Regions from separate parts of the Homo sapiens genome. Here regions 2, 3, 4 and 5 are each linked to region 1. The links are contacts of gene promoters, found by promoter capture Hi-C in blood cells and fetal thymus (Javierre and others, 2016). All regions are on one chromosome and are shown on one strand. The core of a region is centred on a gene start or on the middle of the fragment in contact, and the rest is flanking DNA. Distances in the headings are between cores, read along the strand shown.

The links. Contacts are between HindIII fragments. The CHiCAGO score rates a contact against its expected background, and 5 or more counts as called.
Region 2: a contact is called between a fragment that was not itself captured here and the fragment with the promoter of EQTN in region 1, in 1 of 17 cell types (M2 macrophages). The highest score is 6.0, in M2 macrophages.
Region 3: a contact is called between a fragment that was not itself captured here and the fragment with the promoter of EQTN in region 1, in 1 of 17 cell types (M0 macrophages). The highest score is 5.1, in M0 macrophages.
Region 4: a fragment that was not itself captured here is called in contact with the fragment with the promoter of EQTN in region 1 in 1 of 17 cell types (neutrophils); the score reaches 6.2 in neutrophils.
Region 5: a fragment that was not itself captured here is called in contact with the fragment with the promoter of EQTN in region 1 in 1 of 17 cell types (M2 macrophages); the score reaches 6.2 in M2 macrophages.

The regions. Positions count from the first base shown.
Region 1 is chr9:27,295,675-27,298,485 of GRCh38, forward strand. It overlaps EQTN (equatorin), which reads right to left and starts at 1,476. Exons shown (of 8, transcript NM_020641.3): 1 at 1,306-1,476; 2 at 939-1,064. The coding sequence starts at 1,381. The HindIII fragment of the contact is 8,347 bases long and covers 1-2,811 here.
Region 2 is chr9:28,097,730-28,100,429 of GRCh38, forward strand. The region is part of intron 6 of LINGO2 (leucine rich repeat and Ig domain containing 2); the gene reads right to left. Among named protein-coding and RNA genes, the nearest start is that of C9orf72, 530 kb to the left of the region's middle. The HindIII fragment of the contact is 622 bases long and covers 1,066-1,687 here.
Region 3 is chr9:28,054,739-28,057,554 of GRCh38, forward strand. All of the region lies in intron 6 of LINGO2 (leucine rich repeat and Ig domain containing 2), which reads right to left. Among named protein-coding and RNA genes, the nearest start is that of C9orf72, 480 kb to the left of the region's middle. The HindIII fragment of the contact is 1,354 bases long and covers 632-1,985 here.
Region 4 is chr9:28,031,244-28,033,943 of GRCh38, forward strand. The region is part of intron 6 of LINGO2 (leucine rich repeat and Ig domain containing 2); the gene reads right to left. Among named protein-coding and RNA genes, the nearest start is that of C9orf72, 460 kb to the left of the region's middle. The HindIII fragment of the contact is 2,911 bases long and covers 1-2,700 here.
Region 5 is chr9:28,075,932-28,078,631 of GRCh38, forward strand. The region is part of intron 6 of LINGO2 (leucine rich repeat and Ig domain containing 2); the gene reads right to left. Among named protein-coding and RNA genes, the nearest start is that of C9orf72, 500 kb to the left of the region's middle. The HindIII fragment of the contact is 1,570 bases long and covers 541-2,110 here.

The sequences.
Region 1 (2,811 bases), core at 226-2,725:
ACAAAAAATTAGCCGGGCGTGGTGGCGGGCGCCTGTAGTCCCAGCTACTCAGGAGGCTGAGGCAGGAGAATGGTGTGAACCCGGGAGGCGGAACTTGGAGCGAGCAGAGATTGCGCCACTGCACTCCAGCCTGGGCGACAGCGCGAGACTCCGTCTCAAAAAAAAAAAAAAAAAAAAAAACAACGATAAAATTACTTTTAAAATTCAAGAAAACAATATTTTGGACTGGATAAAGCCTGCTTAGGCAAGACACAAAATGCAGAGATTATAAAGAAATAAATAAACAGAACTGATATTATAAAACTTGAAATCTTCTCAGTTATTAAAGATACTTAAACAGGCTTGGCCAGGTGTGGTGGCTCGCACCTGTAATCCTAGCACTTTGGGAGGGTGAGATGGGTGAATCGCTTGAGCCCAGGAGTTGGAGACCAGCCTGGGCAACATGATGAAACACCGTTTCTACAAAAAAAATACAAAAATTAGCTTGGTGTGATGGCATGTGCCTATAGTTCCAGCTACTCGGAAGGCTGAGGTGGTAGGACTGCTTGAACCCTGGGAGGTCAAGGCTGGCTGCAGTGAGCCATGGTCGTGCCACTGCACTCCAGCCTGGGTGACAGAGCAAGACTCTGTCTCAAAAACTGAATACGATACAATAAAATAAAATAAGCCTTAAAGATAAGCAGCATCTTGGCAGAAAACATTTATTACTTTTACCGTAAAAAGGATTAATATATTCTACATAAAAAGAGCCCTTAAAAAGAAATGAAAATACAACCTAATGGAAAAATGGGCAAGGGTATGAACAGGCAGGTCACAGAAGTAGAAATAAAATACCCAACAAATACAGGGGGAAATGATGGAAATTTAAAAAGGACACTTAAGTGAAACCAGGATAATCAACTTTTGCATATACATTTCTATTCACTTTAAAGACTTACATTGTTTTATATCTTTATAATAATTGCCATTTTTCTCATTAGCAGGAGCATAATTGGGAGTATGATCTTCATTCTTTTCTTCCTGCTTATTAACATCTTCATTTAAAGGTAGCACATTAGGCAATGCTAAAAAAAAGTATCACACACCATAGATCAGAAATATGTTGATTTCTTTTACTGCTTTCTTTTTCTAACTGCATTTTTTTCACAAAGGATTAGAGGCAGAGATTTAAAATCTAAAACATACCATAGCTCCAACAATAAAGTTTATATCCTCCTGTAGAAAACTGCCACATACCAATTTTTCATGATTATGGGTCATCCTTCTTACCTACTATTTTTATAAAAGTTTTAAATGCTCTCTCACCTTCAATAGTAGGCTTCAAAGTGCTACTTTTTAAGGAAAAAACTCCAGGTATAAAAATAAACAATATAAAATTCATTGGGAAATTGAAGTGATTTATCCAGTAATCTAGTGCGTCTACCCAGAGCCTCCTTTCTGTGGCCCAGCAGGTCCTGTGTCTAACTAGGACATTATGACATCACTGTCAGATGGGCATCAGAATGTTGGTGGGGGTGGGGGTTCCCAACAGCTTTGTGACTCAGTCTGAAGACTGCTTTATCTCAGGTACTATAATGGTTTTTAGTTATTTTTTAAATAAACCATTACAAGATTTTCTTTGAAAGTTAATAAGTGTGTTTTCATAAAAGAATGTTAATTACTCGGCTCTGGATTTTAAAGAACCATTTGTAGAGCACTCGATTCTGTGGCTAGTCAGGGTGCCACTTGTAACCCGCACGGACCTAGGGGACTGAACAAAGGGGGACGAATGCGGGAATAAAAGACAAAGACAAAAGAGTATATTTGGAAGAAGGGGTCGGGGGCACCTTGCCTCTAGTGGGCAAGGGCCCTGAGCTTTACACAGCCCTCTGTATTTATTAGGCAAGAGAGATAGTGAGAAGGAGGATGGAAGAAGGGGTCAGCTGCCCGGTCCAGAGTAGGCATGCAACACTGCATTCTCTAGATGTCGCAGTAGATAACCTCGGTGCCAGGGAGTGATTGCCTCCAGCAAACCTTCTGTGGGCAGGAGCAGTCGTGAGTTTGCCCACATCCTGCATTCATAATAAACAGTTTGCTGTTTGATCATATAGCCTCCAGTGGAATGCTGAGTGGCTCACGTCCCACGAGCCTTCGGCTCCCTGCAACCATTAATATTGTTAAGAGTAAAATGAGAACAGATCTTTTTGTTTCTCAAAGCATTGCAATATGATGTGTTTTCTTGGATAAATGCAATAAAAATATCTTTTAAAAACTAGTCAGAGGCTGGACGCAGTGGCTCACACCTGTAATCCCAGCACTTTGGGAGGCTGAGGTGGGCAGATCACTTGAGGTCAGGAGTTCAAGACCACCCTGGGCAACATGGTGAAACCTCATCTCTACTAAAAATACAAAAGTTAGCCAGGCGTGGTGGCCCACGTGCTTGAACATGGGAGGCAGAGTTTGCAGCGAGCCGAGATCACACCACTGCACTCCAGCCTGGGTGAAGAAGTGAGTCTCTGTCTCCAAAAAAAAAAACAAAAAACAAAAAACAAAACAAAAAAAACAACTAGGCAGAAAAACCAAGTTCTGATGCCAAATGCCCTACAAGTCTACAAGTTCTGGTTAATGGATTATCTTAACTATAATTCTTTAGAAAAGTTCTCTAAAACTGGTCATTTTTAGATTTTAAGGCCTATATTATATAAATAATTAATAATAACATATTATATATTAGTTATATAAATATATTATATATTTTATAAAATATATAATTATATAATATATAAAATATAGGTCTTATATGTATTTATATTTCATATGGCTTTTGGGGTC
Region 2 (2,700 bases), core at 127-2,626, 800 kb after region 1:
ATGCTAAATGACGAGTTAATGGGTGCAGCACACCCGCATGGCACATGTATACATATGTAACTAACCTGCACATTGTGCACATGTACCCTAAAACTTAAAATATAATAATAATGAAATAAAAAAATAAAAGATACACAACCTCTTAAAAAAAATTGAAGGGAGCTTATAGGGAAAGGATGAGATGAGCTGGATACCTAGTTTAAGGAAAGTCTGCCAACAGGCCTTGCTTAGCCAATGCTTCTCTTCATTCATTCTATTTTAATAAAAAGATGTTTTTAAAAATCGATACCAAAGTCCAGGTGCAGTGGCTCATGCCTGTAATCCCAATACTACGGGAGGCCGTGGAGAGTGCATCACTTGAGGTCAGGAATTTGAGACTAGTCTGACCAACATGGTGAAACTCCATGTCTACTGAAAATACAAAAATTAGCTGGGTGTGGTGGCATCCACCTGTGGTCCCAGCTACTAGGGAGGCTGAGGCAGAAGAATCGCTTGAACGCAGGAGGCTGAGGTTGCAGTGAGCTGAGATCTTGCTACTGCACTCCAGCCTGGGTGACAGAGCCGAACTCTGTCAAAAACAAAAAACAAAAAACAAAAAGCAAAAAAAAACTCTATACCAAAAACCATTGAATTTTACGTTTTAATGGGTGAATTGTATAATATGTGAATTATATATCAATAAATCTATAACATGTCATATTTCTTTGTCACTGTCTGTTTCCTAAACCTGCACCACAAATTTGGCTTGCTGTCTGCTTAGCACTTTCACATCAGATTATATACTTCTTAGCACCTGGCCTTTCCTGATGTAGGGTAGTTACATCCTTCAGGCATGGATCTTTCTTTTTTCGTCTATATACTAAATATCCTCTGTGTTATTCTGATATTTTTATGTGTGGATACTGGTCACTGGCCAAGGCACATGTGAATTATAAGAGTCAAGAATGCTAAGCCCCATGTGGAGATGCTTAGAGTACCAGTTGGTAGGTGTTAAGCATTATAAAATATCAAGAGTTCACAAAACAATGAGAATGTTACACAGAATATGTCAAGTGGAGCAGGCAAAGCTTGCACCTGTCTTGACAGGGGTCCACAGCTTATTTGAGATACAGAATGTTTTGATAATGGATGGTGCTGATATGGGAGGAAATGGTGAATATGTTTGTGTTATTGAAAAAAATGGGGTGAACATCCTGTGTAACCTTCAGTTAGGCTTTTTGGCTGGCTTTGAAATGTATTTCATGCTACACTGAAGCTGGTGGGTAAGGGAATGAAAACAAACCCATAGGAACTTCAGGTCACATTGATTCTGAATTCAAAACATTATGCTAATAGCATAGAAAGACTGTATGTACTAGATAGGACAGTAGCAATAACATTAGTATTACTAGTTAAATTAACATAATATCTGAAAGCTCCACAAGGTTCCTTACAGGTGATTTTTTTTTGGTATCTTTCATCTGTACCTAAAAGCCATAGCCCCTATTGTGTGTCCTGGGACTGACTATCAGTGGAGCAAAGCATCTAGTGATTATTTTAAAGTGCCAATTCACGGATTTGAATAAATACAACAAAATATCAGCAAACAAAAAGGCTTTTTATTTTTGAAAAATATTTATACAATTTGTCTGTGCTTTCTTGTTTTTTGTTTTGTTTTCTTATACCCTAATGTTTGTTCCATGATGGAAGCTTAAATACCACGTGGACAAGTGGAGAAGAAGCTTAGGCTTCATCTTCTCCCTTTTTTCCTACATAGAATCAATGAAGAGTTCTCACTGACTTAGCCATTGGGATAAATTGATACTGTCCAATCTCTCCATCTTAGCTGACACCATCCTGGCCCAAGCCACCACTGTATCTACTTGGACTATCACAATACTGTTCTGTCACCTCAGAATTATGTTTGTTCTACTCTCTATTGAAGCAAGAATGATTTTTAAAAGGCAAATATGATAATATTAGTCTTTAACACTCTTAACACCCAAACTATCCTCATGAAATATTGATTCACACTGATAAAATGGCTTTTGAGGCCAGGAGAAATCTGGTCTTAAAAAACCTACTTCTCCAACTTCATTCTCCACCACTGCCCCCAAAGTTGCCATGCTCTTGCCCTCCTGTCCTCTTGTTCAACTCAGACCCTTTACTAATGCTGCTCCCTCTGTCTGAATGTTCTTTCACTCAGTTGATTGCTGCACATTTTACAAGTGTGATCATATTACTTCTACAAATAATATGTTTTTACCTCTGAAAATCTACTGTGTTCTCTGCTATCATAGCATCATGTACTTCTGCTCTTAGCACATAACAAGATCATATTCAAAATATTATTGTGGAAGTATTTGTTTCAAATCTGTTTTCCCATTAGATTGAAAGCTCTGGGGGCAAACATTGTCTTATTCACTGGTATATACTTCACACCTAGCATCGTACCTAAAATATATTGGAAGTTCAAAATTATTTGACACATAAAATCATGAATAAAATCAATAGAGTCCCCATGAAAGCTTCTCTTTCTGTAATAGCAGGTGCACCACACATTTCAGAGCAACAAAAATCTCTTACAATGTGAGCTCTTAGCATGTGCTAGGCACTAGATATGCAGAGACAAATGCAATGCTCCCTGCTTTCAAACAGCTAACTCATAGTTTAGAGGGAGGTAAGCAGAGGGCTTAAATAGATAAATCAGAGTAAAATGTA
Region 3 (2,816 bases), core at 59-2,558, 760 kb after region 1:
TGATATCCACAAATACCATATTATAAGTGATCATATTCCAGGCTATAACTTAATTTTTAATTTTCAATATTTCCTTAAGTTTACTATACTAAATCTAAGCCTTAGGTTGTTATGCCTTATTTTAGAAATGGAGCCTTTTCAAATATCCAAGCACTACTTTCACATATTCCTGTTTTTTGTATGCCTCATACTACAAAGCTACAGTCTTCTTTCCTCTTAAATGTGAATACTCCTTACATAAGCTTTACTGAAATTTAATTTGCTTTCTGATTAAAACAAAACGCACAAACTTGCAAAAAAAATATATATAGCCTCCCAGAGGGAAGCTAGATGGTAATCAAAAATTTCCAAAAACCGGAGAATGCTTTACTTACAGAAAGCATTTCAAAGCAAAATGCTGAAGTCTTTTGTTTTCCTTGTGGTTTATCCTTATGTAAATTGGCTTAATTTTTTAAGTTTCTGCAGACAATTTCTTATGAACGTGAAAATAACTTACGAATAAGGTAGAAGCCTCAAACTGATTTCCTTTTCCCTGTAGTTGCTTATAACATGTGTTTTAAATGGCTTAGTAATTTCTTGATAGAACAGGTACAGGTGGATGGAAAAGGGCTGCTCAAATAAACTCTAAACAAGCTTCAGCCAAGGAGTCTGAATGGCCAGGCTATTTTAGCTATTGCCACATTTCTGTTGGGTATAAGGGCATTTGCAGCAAGTCTGTTTGCATAAAATAAGAACTTGTAAAAAGAGAGTAAGGTTCACTTTTAGGAAAATGTAAGGTACTTCTGTGGATTGGCTGTGACTTCCACTTTGAATTGGAATTCTTCGTTCGAAGTGTAAGGCTTCAGTCTAATTTCTCAAAATGTTTTCTCTCTATCATAGGCTTACATAAAAACGGCGTCTTGCTATTAAGTTTGTTAGGTTTGCTAGATTGTCAAAAAACAAAATGCTTCTTTGTTAACTACCTGTTACTTAAAATTCTTTAAAAGATATGTACTCAAAGACAAGTCTCTCTTGGAAGTTTAAGTAGTTCAAATTGCTATCTTTAGTTCTATTTGAAGCCTATGGATATAGTTTTATCTAAAAAAGTCTTCTTGCTTAGTCTGTTCACAACTTACTTTGGTTTCGAAGGAGGCATTTGGCAAAAGTTAAATGTGGCTGATTACCACGATTACTTCTCGAGACCCTCACTAAGACAGTTACTACTTGAATCTATCATTACAACAGTTACTATTGTTACTACTTGAGACCTTCATTATGAGACGAAAAGAAAGAACATAGAAATGAAAACTTAAGACAAAAGAAACTATTTTAAAGGAAAGATCCAGAGAAAAAAGAAAGGAGCTCCCCGCTTTCAGTGAGCAAAGGCAACCTCTGAGCGTCTACCGCCCTTCCTATTTATTGTGTAGCAAGAGCAGGGCGGAGCAGGTAACGATTGGTCGGCTGCTTAATTGATAACAGGTTTATATTATTACTAACAGGCTTCAGATGTGCCTAATGGCAAGAAACACTGCACTTGGGGCGTGACTGCCCTCGGCATTCCTTCTGGGTGGCAGACTCAATTTGTCAGTTTGCTGACATTTTGCATTTATGAGAAACAGTTTGCTGTTTACTCGTACAGCCTCCAGTGGTATATTCAGTAGATCACGACCCTCATTCTTTCAGCCTCCATCAGTTAAATATTGTTTTTGTCCTGTCTCAGCACTCTTTCCATGGGAAAACTAGTTTCCCATACTCTTTAATGAATATCATGTGGTTCTTCTCATCTACACCACCCACCTTCACATCCCAGGGATACCTCAGTGATTTGCATACAGCTCAGACCTGAATACAGCACCCTACACAGTGATTGGCTAAAGCCAATTAGCCCCTGGCAGGACCTAGCAAGAAAACCATAATTTAGGATCTGCAGCTCTAAGAATGATCTTAGATATGTCACCAGCTGTTCTGCAGATGTATGGAGCAGAAGAGACAGGGCCTGTGGCTTAAGCTTGACTTTTACTTTCGTCACTTGCAACTCCAAAGAATTCTGATATATACAGAGAGAAGCTAAGTTGTTAGGCATTTCTTTTATAATGAAGTGTCATTGTGTCTTTGACATGTGCAAATTCTCAGTTCATGCTTTTTTAAAATACAAGAATGATAGAAACTGAAATGACCTTGGATTAAGCATGCTACATAATTGTCACATAATTTGATATTATATTGGATTTTAAGAGAGTGTCTTGGTTTAGGTTAATCACAGAAACACTTTCCATAGTGTTGATGATTCTATATAAAATAACTAAAGAGTACCAAGAAATAAAATGAAAATCTACATGATAATGTAATGATTGTTATTCTAATTTTGAAGTAGTGGCTGTTGCGCTTATGAATGAATGCAGTTAGACCAAAAAGTTAAACCTGACTTAACCCAAGATGTCTATGCCTGTTCTACTAAGATGCTGGCTACACTATTTTTTTCTGAGGTATTCCAACTGATTTGGGCTGAAATATATTCCACATTTAACGCATTTGGCAACCAATAAGTTAAGCAAAAGTAAAGTTTTTTTTTTTTATTGCAGGATTTCTCAGAACCCTGTTTATGATAATGTGTATTGTAAATCTACAAAAGGGAAACAGCATATTCAGCCTTTCTCAAGCTTATTTAATTATGGAACCATTTGCCAGTAAGCGCTTTTGAGGATTAGTGTTCTATGAGATACAGTTTTCAAAATTTAGGCCCATGTTATGAAAATGAGCCTTGTTCATGGCTTTCCAGTTGTGAATGTATGCATATATGTGTGTATATATATACACACACACATATGTATATAAGT
Region 4 (2,700 bases), core at 83-2,582, 740 kb after region 1:
TAGCTTTGGAGATACTCACTAAATAAAATGGGACCATCCACCATGTTTAACCTTGTTTTGCATATATTAAGCAGTCTCTTTATACCCACTTCAGTAGAAAAACAGGATGGTTTTTTTTTTTTTTTACAATTTTTAAAAAATTTAACATTGACATAATTATATTTATGGGTTACAATATGTTTTGACTTATGTTTACATTGTGGAATGATTAAATCAATCTAATTGAATCCATCACCTTACAAATTTCTAAAAAGCTGATGGATTTTGATGGCATCAGATTGCTTTAGTAGGAATCTAGGATCTGCCACTTACTTGCTGTGTGACCTTAGCTACTTCTCACTCACTTTCCTCATCTTTAAAGTGGGGACAGTCTGGTGTCTGCCACACAACATTGGTTTTGGGATGAGATTAGTTGAGATAATTATGATCTGCTCTGTCTGTGTCGGCTAAGCCGATTATTGTTTGTCCAGGGCTGATTGGGAATACCTGGGAGACCTCTGCCAGCTCCCTTTCAGTGCTGTATGGCAGCAAGCTGTCCAGAACACACACTTGTCTATCAAAGGAAAACAGATCATTACAGAGAGATATTAGTGATTCTATTCTTAAACTGTTGGGTAAAACCACGCTTCACCATGATGCTCCAAATCCTCCTTAAAATACCTTCAATCTGGTGTATTATTGTGACAGCCAACTGTGTGCCAGGCAGGCAGTACCTATTAAAAGTTGTTTGGAGATTAGGGCTCAGAGAACAGCTGGGTACCTTTGTTACTAGCAGTCTGCTGACTCAAAATGAGGGGTGGGGGGGGAAAGCCTCACTGGGATGAAGACAGCAAAGAAAAACCGCAGAGCTGGGGGGAAAATAAAAACAGCTTTGGCCTTTGAAAACCGATTGCTCTGCTGTCCTGTCATGAAGTAGGTAATATGGGCATTCACAATTCCACACAGGATCTAATTCAAGTCTTAAAAAAAAAATACAACATGATAAAAACCCAGGTCCAGGTGCAGGCTGTTTTCTCTTGGTACTTGGTTTGAGGAAGCATTTGTTGCTCTATTATGAAAGCGCACACACTGCCTGCCCTCGCTGCCCAGCACCCCACCTCAGTCTCCAGGGCTATAGGAATGCTGATCACAGATGGGCTCCCACTGCCTTAGCAGAGGGAGATTCCTGTCTTTGTCAACATTACATATGATTCACATAACTAACTGCTCATGCCTTATGATTCCAGGCAATCAATGGTGAATCTAGTTACAGCTTAAGAGAACCAGGTGCCAGAAATATCTTCCATCTCTCAGTGCCTTTGGGCATTCTCATTCAGTACTGAAAGCAGCTTGACAAAGGAGGCAACATAAATGTTTTTAGTCCCTTTTACAGATGAAAACACTGAGACCCAAAATGTTCAAACATCCTGCCCATCGTCCCAGAACTAGTTGGCGACAGACCAGGAATCTTGGAATGAAAACCTATAACCCATGAGTGAGCATACAGTGACATAGATCCTGCCAGAAACACTCCACATTTTCACCCCATGACAATGGACACTGTGTCCCTGAAAAGTTCTACTTTGGTTTGGGTCTAGTAGATGGTGCCACATCAGGGAAACACTGTACAACAGAAGGGATACAATTTTAAAATAAAGTTTTCCATCAGGCGGCTGCCTTCTTTTGTCTGAGAAAGATTTGTGCCTGAAAGTTTTAGGAGACAGCATCCCAGTCAGCTTCATTCTTTCTCTGATAATTTATCCATATGAAATCCTTGCGGCTCTCAAATCAGATGAGAAATGTTCTAGAATACTAGAAAACATGGTGTAGACAGAAGCCAGTACTGTTGCAGCTAATACAAAGCCTGAAACCCTCTGCATTTGCTGCTATGATCCCTTTACTTACGTTGTTAGTTGCGTATGTGAATTGTGCCTTCCATTCCCTTTGCAAATGTTCAGTGGGCTTGCACAGTGTGTTACACTAAATAGGTGTGCATGAATTTTACCAAATCTCATTGAATTCCTATGGCTTGTCTTCAGAACTATACATGTTACATTCCAGAGTCAAAAGAAGCTCAGTGATGGGGGTGGGGCAAGAGTCAGTACCCTCCGAAATGGGAGCATGTTGGAGACACTGTGGCAATGCTAGGGAGGGGGATCTCTTATTAGCAGTCATCAAAGGTTCTTGCCCACTTGCACTGGCCTGCTGTTCTGCCCTACTGAAACCTGTGCAGGAGAGAACCATCAACAGCTTTAGTTGGTGGGAAGGGGAGGCAGAGCACTAGGAGAATAAACTGCCACGGTATAGTTGTAAAAGGCTACTGGAAAGTAAACACACCAAAATGTCAATTAGGTAATTTCATCATGGACTGATGCTTTCTCTCCTAGTTTTTTTATATTTTGAGGATGGATTACTTTTATAATGGCAAAAAAAAAATTACTTCAAAATTTTTTGCAGTGTTTCTATTCTGCCCCAATTTAATACCATCCTTACAAAGCTCACATCATGTGTGAAACTTATTGAAAAGTATAACCAGGATAATCTGCTAAATTCGTTAGGAAGACAGAAGATGTAGCTGACTTCAGTGAGAGTTTGAAGTGAATGCAACCCAAGTCATGTATAGTTCACTTGAAGGACATTTGTTCAGTCAACAAGGATTTCCCATCCCCCACACCCAAGTCCAGCCCTTTCCAGTGGGCCCTTGTGCGTTTTATTCTTGTA
Region 5 (2,700 bases), core at 76-2,575, 780 kb after region 1:
TGCTTTTTGTGCTGTGCATTAGTTTGAAGTAAATATGCCTTTTTCCCATATAGATTAACAATTATTCTAGCAATATCTATTGAATGGCTCATCTTCTTCCTAATAATTGCAATATTATGCCTGTCATACATGCTATTTGTCTATTCCTGCAGCAGGATATCCTGTCTTAATTACTATTGTTTTAAAATCAATCTTTAAAATCTGGTACCACAATTCACCCCACATTTTCTTCACAAATTATATTTTCAGAGCCTTTGCTCTTCTAAATACTATCTTAGAACTGTATTGGGATTTTAACTGAAAATATGTTTGGTTGATCTTTTTGTTTCTCATTTCTTTTTATACCTACTGGTTTGGTATTTAAATACACTAGCTCCATTCTGTTAATTGATACCATTGAAGCATGAACATGCATACTTAATAAAATCTAAAGTTAATCAGTGTCTTTAACTTCCCCCCAAACAGTAAACATATCTGAAAACATTTTAATTCTGATCTCTTCCTAGCTTACATTGCATAGCTTTTTTATATTTTACCTCAAGCTTTTTTTTTCATTTTAGTCCAACAAGTTAGATGTTATGATGTTTATTTTTAAGAATAGGTTTAAATCTCCCAACAAGTATGTCTTATTTTATTTTTGATCACATTCCTTTCTTCATGTCAGATTTTCTCTGATGTCAATTATTTACTTCTGAAACATTCTCTAGGAAGTTAAGGTCTTTTGCTGATAAATTAAAAAAAAATTCTGGAATGGAATTTATTTCCCTCTGGTTCTTAAAACCATAGTTTTATTGGGTTTCAAATTTTTGATTGTCAGCTATCTTTGGAGCACATTAAAGGTCCATTCCACTGGCTTCTGGATTCCACAGTTGTTGGTGAAAAGTTACCTGTCAAACTCATTTCTGATGCTTTGTAGGGGAGCCATCTTTTCCCCTCTGGCTGCTTTTAGGGGATAAACCAAGGGGTTCATTCTTGAAATTCTAATGTCTATTATTTCATTGTTTGTTCTGGTTTCCAACAAAAGACATTGGAAATTGTGCAGTAAGGTTGAAAATGGGAATGCATAGTGACAGAAGTAAGTAGGGGTACTTTTTACCAACATTTTGACGTGACTTAATGAAGTTTGACTGCACAGCTTACTGGTTTCTACCCCATAGAAAACTACAGTAAGTGACTCTAAAACAAAAACATTTTGGCGATGTGAACATGTGGTCAGAAAAATAAAAACCAGTCTGAAATCACAAGAAAACTGACAGTCAATGGACCACCAAGATGTGTTTCCACTAAATGGTATACATACATACAAGTACCACAAAATCTTAGATAGGAAGTAAGAGTTGAGTAAGGCCCAGTAAAGAGATAGAGTTTGTTGAGTATGATGAATTATTTCCCAGAAAATCATGAAATATATTTTCATCTAATCAAGTGAGTCTTACAAAAATGTGCTCCCATTTTGTATACTATCTTATAGCAAAGGATACGGGTTGGACAGCTTATGAATCCACATGTATACACTTTATATACATTTGTCACATTTTATTCACTCATGGATTCATTCATTCACTTAAAACTATTATTAAGTCCATCTGTGTTCTGGGAACCCATGTTCCTATTTAAGTAAATGCATCAAAACTATTATCTTATTTTTTTCATAGAGATAACAAAAACTCTCAGGCTATGAAGGCAATTGCAATGCAAGTATGCTATTTAATTACTTGGGGAAGAGTAGTTTCATTAAAATGTCAGCTAAATTGAGTAGAAAAGATGCAAAAAAATAAAAACCAAAACCCACTCCAATGTTATCTAGAGATTTTTCAATGGTTTTACTTTATTATTTGATATGGTTGTAAAAAAAGAAAGAGAAGAAAGAAGAAAGAAGTAGAAAAGAAAGATAAGAAAAGGAAGAATCCTCAATCTAATAACCTCATGCTCAATTTTCAGTTACTTGTCTTTGTGAAAATGAACCTACTCTACTGCTTCTTTGAAGGAAAAGAGCAGGCCTGATTTCATGATTAAGCGTCAACTCTAGAGAATGATGTGGTTGTAATCTGTCTGCCATATGTGTTATGGTTAAGTGGTGGTTTAACATATCTTTTTTTGTAAAACTTAAAGCTTAACAAATAAACAAATAAATAATGGCTCTTGCCTTAAAATATGCTGGTAATGTATTGACAGAGAAAAACATAACCCTTTTACTCCTATTTATATTCCATCATTTCTGCCAGTGAGAAGGATGGTCAGGCTAGTAAGAGGAGCAGATATTTGCGAGAGGAAATTGAAGCCCAACAAGATGAGTTAACACTCAGGAAGTGTGTGTCTCCTGCCCAGATAGAACTGCAGGCATGCAGGGCAACTGAGAGGATGTGCAGTTTAGTTTGCAGAGTTGCTACCAGCAATGTTTGAGGAATATGGAGAGCAGAATAGGTATTAAAGGACTGATTAGGACAATATGATGATGAAAAAAACTTTAGAGAACTTAAAGAAATGTCTAAATCTGATTTTTAAATAGACTATTTTTTTTTAGGATTTGTGAGCACATGGAAAAAGAATAGTGATCCTAGGAGCTACCATATATGCCTTATTGACAAATTATGTTATATTGACCTTGCTTTATTTTGGGTTAAGATCTCTAGACTCTGCCGGGCGTGGTGGCTCATGCCCGTAATCCCAGCACTTTGGGAGGCTGAGGCGGGCGGATCA